Linked DNA regions of Homo sapiens: regions 1 and 2 are each linked to region 3. Evidence: promoter capture Hi-C in 16 types of primary human blood cells and fetal thymus (Javierre and others, 2016). All regions are on one chromosome and are shown on one strand. Each heading gives the region's core, a stretch centred on a gene start or on the middle of the fragment in contact. The rest is flanking DNA. Distances are from core to core; before and after follow the strand shown.

The links. Contacts are between HindIII fragments. The CHiCAGO score rates a contact against its expected background, and 5 or more counts as called.
Region 1: a contact is called between a fragment that was not itself captured here and the fragment with the promoter of ROBO3 in region 3, in 2 of 17 cell types (endothelial precursors and total CD8 T cells). The highest score is 6.4, in endothelial precursors.
Region 2: a contact is called between a fragment that was not itself captured here and the fragment with the promoter of ROBO3 in region 3, in 5 of 17 cell types (non-activated CD4 T cells, naive CD8 T cells, activated CD4 T cells and 2 more). The highest score is 6.1, in non-activated CD4 T cells.

Annotation. Positions count from the first base shown.
Region 1 is chr11:124,647,325-124,650,470 of GRCh38, reverse strand. It overlaps SIAE (sialic acid acetylesterase), which reads left to right. Exons shown (of 10, transcript NM_170601.5): 5 at 675-852; 6 at 2,296-2,405; 7 at 2,973-3,106. Among named protein-coding and RNA genes, the nearest start is that of SIAE, 25 kb to the left of the region's middle. The HindIII fragment of the contact is 495 bases long and covers 1,099-1,593 here.
Region 2 is chr11:124,629,440-124,632,336 of GRCh38, reverse strand. It overlaps TBRG1 (transforming growth factor beta regulator 1), which reads right to left. Exons shown (of 9, transcript NM_032811.3): 6 at 1,852-1,949; 7 at 1,482-1,592; 8 at 920-1,062; 9 at 1-244. The coding sequence ends at 99. Among named protein-coding and RNA genes, the nearest start is that of TBRG1, 8.0 kb to the right of the region's middle. The HindIII fragment of the contact is 875 bases long and covers 813-1,687 here.
Region 3 is chr11:124,864,131-124,866,949 of GRCh38, reverse strand. ROBO3 (roundabout guidance receptor 3) reads right to left here and starts at 1,518. Exons shown (of 28, transcript NM_022370.4): 1 at 1,213-1,518. The coding sequence starts at 1,372. RefSeq lists an enhancer at 526-1,202. The HindIII fragment of the contact is 17,224 bases long and covers 1-2,819 here.

The DNA of each region.
Region 1 (3,146 bases), core at 97-2,596, 220 kb after region 3:
TTGGGTATAAAGCCACCAGAAAAAAGAAGAAATACACATTTCTTCTTAAGTTGCCCCCTCCTTGCTTTTTCCCTTCCACAGAGCTAAGTGGGAATGAGTGGCTGAGTAAGAGGGGAGACACAGAAGAGAGTAGCATGGGGACATGATGGCCCTCCCACCTCTCACCTATTTGAGGGAGAGCATTGATTATCCGAGAGTCTGCAGATCCTGTAAGTGATGGGAAGCATGGGGAAGCCTATTGCCTAGCCAGAGTTTTAACTTCCATGTTATGTAAGTGAATTATTTATAATCAGACTGAGAGCAAAATCGCTATCATATCTGCCTCTCTCCCAGGCAGAGAGAGCTATTTCCTTGTTATGAGAACAAGCATTTTGAGTAACTGAAAAAACATGAAGACAGATAAAAGGAAACTATCACTAAGGTTACAGTTTTCTCCCTTGGAAAAGATTCTCCTTAGGGAAGGTTTGGAAGAGATAATAGTGTTCAGACCAGCATATTGGTCTTGATGCTGTATCTTCTCTGTGCCTCTCAATCTTATCCTACTTTTGAAAGTCTTAGAAAACAACAGAAGAATGACCTCTGCCCACCCTTCTCACCTCGACCCACCTAGCAGCTGCAGTTTGTATCCATCAACCTTTCTCTGGCTCTTTTTCTTTAACCATTTCTCTGAACAGAAAACTTAGGCCATGGATATTTCAAGTACATGTCAGCAGTGTGCTGGCTCTTTGGACGTCACCTTTATGACACTCTGCAGTATCCCATCGGGCTGATCGCCTCCAGCTGGGGCGGGACACCCATTGAAGCCTGGTCATCTGGACGGTCACTGAAAGCCTGTGGGGTCCCTAAACAAGGGTAAGACAGCATTCTCCAGTCTGAGAAAGAGCCTACCAGGGAATTATGCAAGAGAGAGGGTCATCGTCCTCTGTGGGGAGTTAAGTATATGGTGAATGTCCCAATATGTGTTGAATGTATGTAATTTATTCATGTAGAGGGAAAGCATTATTTTCACTGTCACTGCCACCACAATCGTTTGAGAACATGTAAAAAAAAAGTATCTTTTCCCCCAGTAATAGTAATAGCTAGTGGTTACTGAAAGCTTTTTATATGCCAGACACTGTGCTAAGCACTTTATATATATAAATTATGAATATATTGAATATATATTATTATATATTAATATATTGAAGTGTAGATATTAAAGACCATGGGTGAAGACACTACATTTCAGAGAGACTTAGTAACTTGCTCATGAGCATGACTAGTAAGTGGCAAGTCTGGCTTCAGTGTCTGTGCACCTAACCATTGTGCTGTATTGCCTAGAAGAATAAACAATCCAACAGGAAGAACAAATGTTATAAACATGTACTCAAAGAAATGTATCAGTATACTGATTATGAACACCTGCTTAGGAAAGGCTGGATCAGGAAGAATACTTGGGGAGGGAAAGGGCTAGTGAATACAAATCCCGATACTAACATCAATGTAGAGATGAGCAGTATGTGACTTGCTTTCATGGACCATGTCTCATTCACGCTGGGAAGCCCTGTGGGAGGAGGATGGGCTTGAGCTCTGGGTATAGTTTGGGTAAAAGCTTGCCTGTGGGGGAGTGAAGATATTCAACTTTGGAACAGGAAGAATGGCCTGCAGTAGAGTAGGAGTGAGCGTTAGACCAGATCTCTGGGGGTGGAAGGGATAATCCCGAGGGTGTGGGCAAGTGGGCTTCTCACACGCAGCAGCTACAGGATAAATTCATATAAATATTCTACAGAGAAATTTGAGAACGTGTTCAGAGCCTTAAAAAAGATGCCCTTTGACACAGCAGTTTCATTTCTGGGAATTTATCTTATGGATATAGTTAAGCATGTATGCAATGACTTAGCTATAAGGAAGATGATCTTGGCATTCCATATAAAAGCAAAAAGTTTAAAACAACCTAAATGTCTGTGCATTAAATAAAGGTTTATTTAATAAAAGTTAGGTAAATTTATTGGCCCCCCCCCACAATGTGAGAAACTCAACAATAAAGCACTCCTTCCCTGTGGCTTTAATTACCTTAGAAATTACCTTTAATTACCATAGAAAGCTGACCGATACACTTATTTTGGGAATAACCTGGAGGTGAAATTCAGAGAATATTCATATGTTTTCAAGAAAAAGAGTTTCGATTCAATTTTAATTCTGTGTTGCTTTCATCAGAAGTTTACCACAAGTGAAAGTGGATAGATGACCAATTAGGGACCCTTATGTGATCAATCACTGGCTCTCTGGTGACACTTGTGCATCATATGATTTCAGGTCCATTCCATACGATTCTGTAACTGGTCCCAGTAAGCACTCTGTTCTCTGGAATGCCATGATCCATCCACTGTGCAATATGACTCTGAAAGGGGTAGTATGGTACCAGGGTAAGTGTTCAGTGTACTCTTTCTCCATTGTATCAGATAGCGTTTGCTGTATAACACAGCACCCTAGAACGTAGTGGCTTAAAGCAACAATAACTTTATAATTTTATTCAGCTCACTGTTCTGTGGGTGAGCAGGGTAGTTTTTATGTCTGGGCTGCTTCAGCTAATTCCTGCTGGGACCTCTTATGTGTCTTTGGCCACCTGGCAGATTGTCTGGTGGCTGGATGACCTAGGATGGTCTCTCCCTAGATGTATTGTCTGGGGGCTGTTGCAACATGGTTCTGAGGTGACCTCTTATCCTTCAGCAAGCCAGTATAGACTCATTTATTATTTATATAATAGTCTCAGGATTCCAGGGTCATCAGGAGAGGACAGAGCCCAAACCTGAAGTACTTTTCAAGCCTCTGTTCGTACCACATTTGCTGATGCCCCACTGGCTGGAAAAAGACCAGTCCAGAGAGACCGTGGGAAGACCACTACCTCAGGGCATGGATGGAGGGAGGAGAGTAATGTGTGGTCATTTTTGCAGTCTACTCCAAACTCCCTTTACAATTTGGACTGTTTTTAGGGGAGTCCAATATAAATTATAACACGGATCTGTACAATTGCACATTCCCTGCACTCATCGAAGACTGGCGTGAAACCTTCCACCGTGGTTCCCAGGGGCAGACGGAGCGTTTCTTCCCATTTGGACTTGTCCAGGTACGATGTGGGTAAAGGCTTCTCTGTTCATGTCAACACC
Region 2 (2,897 bases), core at 1-2,500, 230 kb after region 3:
TTTACTTCTGAATTGCTGCCTTCTTTCATATACCCAAAATTTTAGTTTAAGTTAAATTAATCACGACAAAAACGATGTGGCATCTGATCCCTTCTTGTTCAATCTGAAGACTGAATTGGGCTACCCTGTGATGGAGACTTCAAGTGCTGCAGGTGAGTATCTACCAAGGGTTCATGTGTCAGGTACATGGGCTGGTAAGAAGACACAAAGGCTGCAGGCTGAAGCTCTGGGAGGTCCAAGGATCCTGGAGAAAACAATTCCTTAAGTTCCACTGCTGCTCGGGAGTCTGGGCAGACTGTTTTGGTCAGACATATACATGTCCTTTCAATCAATTCCTTAACACCCTTGCATTTGTCAGCTCAATTTTGCCTTTGTTAAGATAGGACAGATACTTTTACAATGAAAACTGGTTGAAACATTAAGTGACTTGCCTAGGGTTATATAGTATATTAGGCAAAGAGTGAGAATTTCAATTCCATTTTTTAACCCAGAGTTTTCCCTATATGACCCCAAAGCCTGAACCCTTGATCACTCATTTGTGGGAGGAACTCATGGAACACAGGCAGGGCCAAGGCCTTGACTTGACCCCACTGACTTCACTTGAAATGTTATTCCCTGCACAGTAAACTTTCCCCTGGTGTTCTGCTCCAGTCTTGCTTAGGTTACAGAATGAGATACCTTAGTTTCTGGGGTACCCTGCCTTACTATGATCGCAGGTGCTCCCCATGACATCTGTGAGTAATCTAGGAAGCTATGCAGGCCGCAGGTCCCCCTCTAACTCAGCACTCCGCAAGGCTGATTCAATGAAAGCTTTTATCACTCAATGCATAGATATTTAGGGTACTCGGCTATGTGTGAAGATGGGAAGGTAGCCTAAACACAGTCAATTTTCAAACCAGAAAGGTAAAGTTAAAGATACCTGGCAGAAGGGGATCATTCTGATCTTCATCAAAGATCTGTCTCTGAAAGGCTTCAAAGCTCATAGCTGCATCATTCTCCGGCAGCCCCTCAGGTAGCTGCCCATCTCCAGGTTTGCACACATCAAATTTCACCCACTGGTAACTGCAGAATCAAGGGAAATCACCCTTGAGAGTTATCTGCTAGACATAAATACCCATTCCTATCACTAAAGGGATCAGGTAATTTTTCTTTATATTCCGCCCATATATATCTAAAACACATATTTGCTAACAAAAACCTAAAAGAAATAAGCAGGCCTCTTTAGTGACAAATTAGTCTGCTAGATTTCCCACCCCTTTTGCTGTCATGGTACATACAGAAAATAGTAATAATCAGCGAACAGTGGAGTCCTGGCTCTTGCTTACCTGTCCAGAGGGCTAAGGGGGCCAATACTGAGCCCTACTGGTCGAGAAGCAGGCAGGCTTTGGACACAGAAGGTCAGTGAACAAAGTAGGAACTGCCAGTCCCTGGCCGGATGATCACTGAGCTTTTCTCAAGGGAATGAATTTGATCACACTTACTTGATGCATTTTCGAGCTCCTGGACAGCTCTGGATCAGGTTGTGGATGGCTGGATGAGAAAATCCAAAAAAGTCAGCTCCAGCTGGAAGCAGGTTAGGCATTAGTTTCCCCCTAAACAGGAGAGGGATAATTTTAGTTTGAGAGCTTAGCGGGAGATGAAGATGGATTTAAGAACAGAATAGTGGTATGAACAAACAGGATAAGCTTTCTTGACTTTGATAATGTGGAGGCTCTAGTTGGCACAATGTCAGGAGGATCCAGGATAGGTTTCTATAAAATAAAGTATCTCCACCCATTAAAAGCAAGAGAAAAGGTTTCACTGTACCAACAGTGATCTTTTAGCCTGTTTTCAAGCTTTTGGTCAACTTACATAGTAGTGCTTATAGTCCTGAGCAGTTCTGCATGACAAGCATCTGCAGAAGAGCTGACAATGGCATTCTGGGGGTCATCTTCAGGAACAATTTCAAACTGAGAAAGACAAACGAGCAATGAGATCAATCCTCAAGAAGGAAGGAGAGAGGGGCATACTACTCTGTAAATATTTCTTTACTCTGGAACGTGAAGCTGACGTATACCATCTTCAGAAGGGACACACATACTTTCCTATAGGGCTGCTAAAAATTGAAACAAATCCAAGTACCTAGAGAAAGTCCTTTGACTGTTTCAGTTCTACCCTTCTTGGTTGACAGCTTTCCAAAAGTGAGCGTTTAATTTGTTGTGTACCTTTCCAATCCACTTATTTATATCCTTAAGTACAAATACAAATGGTATTTTAAAAACAAATGAGATCACTCTCCATGTAATCTTTTAAGTCAATTTTACAAGATCTAGGAGAAACAGGCTGACTGCAAACTGCCATTTCATTGTATTTACTTTCATTTTGAACGTTAAAATATCTTGGTTATGTTAATAAAAAGAAACTGTTGCATCGAAATTACACTAATTCTGAGGAATTTTTGCCAAGAAAATATTTTTGTAACAAATGTAACAAGTTAACTAGCTGATTTAATTATTTGGCCAGTTTTCTATAAAGCGCAATGATTTTTTTGCCAGGAAAATATTTCTGTAACAAGTTCTATCTAGCCAATTAAATTATTTGACTAGTTTTAAAGTTCATTTAAACAGTTTCTAGTTCTTCAATGTTTACTTCAGTCAAATTATCCTGAACAGGATTAATTTATTTTCTGTATAATTTTTTAGAATGATATCGAGCACTACTGATTTCTAAAAAAAGTCAAAGCAATTTTTACTGAGTATAGTTTCCACTACTGTTAGTTTTCTTCTGTGGTTATTATTTCACTGGATTCAATTTACCGTGTCAAATTTTAGAGATCTGTCAATTTTGTCAGTAATAAATTCTCTTGTGAGTGGTTTCAATCAATGGTGGTTTTCTTATTTCAACCAATGGCATACCTT
Region 3 (2,819 bases), core at 269-2,768:
GAAGCGGGACTCTGCGGGGTGCCAGCGAGAAGGGATCTGTGCTTAACCTCCTGGAAATCTAGGAGGGTCAAGAGGTTGGAGAATCGGGCTCCTCCCCCATCGTCTTTCTCCCCAATCCTTCTATACGGACCACACCCTTCTGGTCGGCCTTTTCCCCCTAATTCCTGTAGACACAGCTGCAGGCGCCCTTTCCCTGGAATTTCCCCCTCTACCCTTCCCGGTCTCAGGAGATGCTTCGACTGCAGCCTAATGAATAGCTAATGGCCATGCTAATGAGGCTCTGGGGCTCCTCCCTCAGCACCTGATGTGCCCCACACATGAACACACACATATTGCCAGGGTCTCCTTTCTCTCCACCTTCGAGTCCCCAGCACAGTGCTCGTCACTAGACTCGAGTGGGTCGAGGCAGAGGGATGGGGACCGCGTGCACCTGGAGGGAACCACACGCGAAAGCGCCCGGTAAAGCGGGGGTTCCCGATGCGGCAGGCAGGGGGCGCGCTCCGGCCTCTCCGCAGGCTGGCGGCGGCCGGCTCCCGCAGCTTCCCCGCGGCGCTAGGGGAGAGCGCGCTGTCCCAGTCATTTATTAATCACCGTAATTAGCGGTAACGACCTCGCCGCCAGCTCCGCCCGCCCGCCACAGCTCTGCCGGGGTGGGCCGGCTGAGAGTCCCGCCGCTGAAAGACAAACTTCTAAGTTTCCTTAAAATGATCGCCGCCCCTATCCCCTCCGTAGCAAACACATCCAGCATTTTGGCTTCCTCTGGTCCTAAGTGAGTTCTTGGGAAACTTCGGGGTTCCGAAGACCAGCTGCCTGGGTGGGTCACCGAGTGACCTGGCTTGGCCGAGGCCGGCGGGAGACTGTGCCCCCTCCTCTGCCCTCCCTGCGCTGGGCCCGGGCCTTTCTTAGCTCGGACTTCCCTGCCCGTTACCAGCAACGGTTCTTCTCACCTGGGGTGGGCGTTGTAGGGGAAGGGAAGGAGGTGTAAAAAGACTCAGTAGCCATCTTCTCCCAAGCCCTCGACCTCCCGCGGGTACCCCCACTCATGTGCTCGAAGCTCCAAATTATCCCTTAGACCCCACGACCCAGGGAGGCGCTGGGAGGCGCCACTCAATCCCGGACCTCGGGACAGGAGCGCTTCTCCTTCCCTTCCACGCCGCCCTCTCACCTCATCCCCATCCCAGGATCCCATATCCCCAAGAGGCAGGGTCTCACCGTTGAGAGAGGGATCGCCGGGAGGCAGCAGGGTGTGGTTGAGCGCCGCCAGCGAGGAGTTGAAGCCCAAGAGCAGCTCGCTGGAGTTGGAGATGTCCCCGGCCAGAGAGTCCGCGAACAAGTTCATCTGCAGCAGCGTTTTCAGCAGGTAGCGCAGCATGGCTCGACCCAGCTGGGATCGGGACTGGGGGCTGGGGGCCCAGCCCCTGGGTCTGAGACCCGTGGGCTGGGAGCCGTAAGCCCCTCCACAGCCTCTGCGCGCTGCGGCAGCCACGGTGCCGCTCTCCTGCCGGTGCGCCTGGGTACGGTCGGTGCCTCTTCGTGCCCTCCTCCTTCCCTCGTCCTTCTCTCCACCCCCTAGTGCCGGAGTCCCCTGGGAGCTGGGCAGGCGGAAAGCAGGTGCCACGCCGATCACGGCGTAATTAAGGGATTAATCCGCCTCCCTCCACCCTCCCACCCTTACCTCTACAGTCACTATCCGAGCAGGAGACACGAGTAGCGTAGCGCGCGAGTTGGAGTCCCCGCCCCGCACCCCAAGCCCAGCGTTCCGTTCTGGACGCGGCGAGAGATTTTCCCTGTCTCAAAGCACCCAAGATGAGGGACGAGGCTCTGTCGGACTCTGCCCTTCTGCCCAACTTTAGAACAGGAATCTGTCCTCTCTTTTCCCGAACCTTTTGGAAACTGAGGCAAAGCGCAAGCAATGCTCCTTGCTGCCAAAGTTCTGGTTTCCATTCCCTCCCAAGTCTAGGGGTTTGGCGACGGAAGGGCAGGAGACTGGGGTGGTTTGCAGCAAGAGTTGGGAGTAGGCAGAGAATTCCAAGACAGGTCCACCTCTCTGCCCTCTGGTCCTTTGGTCTGCAGCCAGGAGGCCAGAGGATGGAGCGGCGCGCCCTGACCCGGGAGTCCTGCTCCAAACGCCCTAATCTAGGAGTTCCTGTAGGAGACTGAAAGCCAGGGAAACCCAGGCAACTGTCATTTATTTGAATCCTTTTACATTACCCTGCTTTGACATTTTTTATTAAATTGTTTTACGTTTTTGAGGAGACTGAAATGGAACCAAGGATTCTAGGACAAAAACAAAGATAATATTATTTTTGTAAAGGCATGTGGGATTGCTGCAAAATTAGTGCAAATCTGTTCAAATCGGATAGCAGTCGTCCTTCCTGGGGGGGGCGAAAAGAAAACCATGGGCCCCTACTCCCACCTCCCACTTCCAGTCGCGGTCTGCTTCTGACTTTTCTGGAGTTCTTTCTACCTGAAGACCCACCTCGACAAACTCACTTTCCTAGACAGGAGATGGCTTTGGGGTATCAGGGAAAGAGAGAGGCCGGGGCATTCCTAACCTGAGGTAAGGCCCTGCTGATTGAAGAGTCAGTGCCAGAGTTCTGGCTCAGCCGTCAGGTTCTGGGATGAGACAACTTTCATGGGGCGACTGCTTCTGACCCCAAAGGGGTCGAGATCAGAGGGGTGGGTGCTATACAGTCGCAGACTCTGGAGTAAGCAGAATCAAGAATTGAAATATTTCAGGCAGAGCTTGTTCAAGGGAACCCGAGACATTGTCAAGGGGTGGGGGGCTTGTTCCAAGCCTCCTTCCTCAGTCCAGGCGC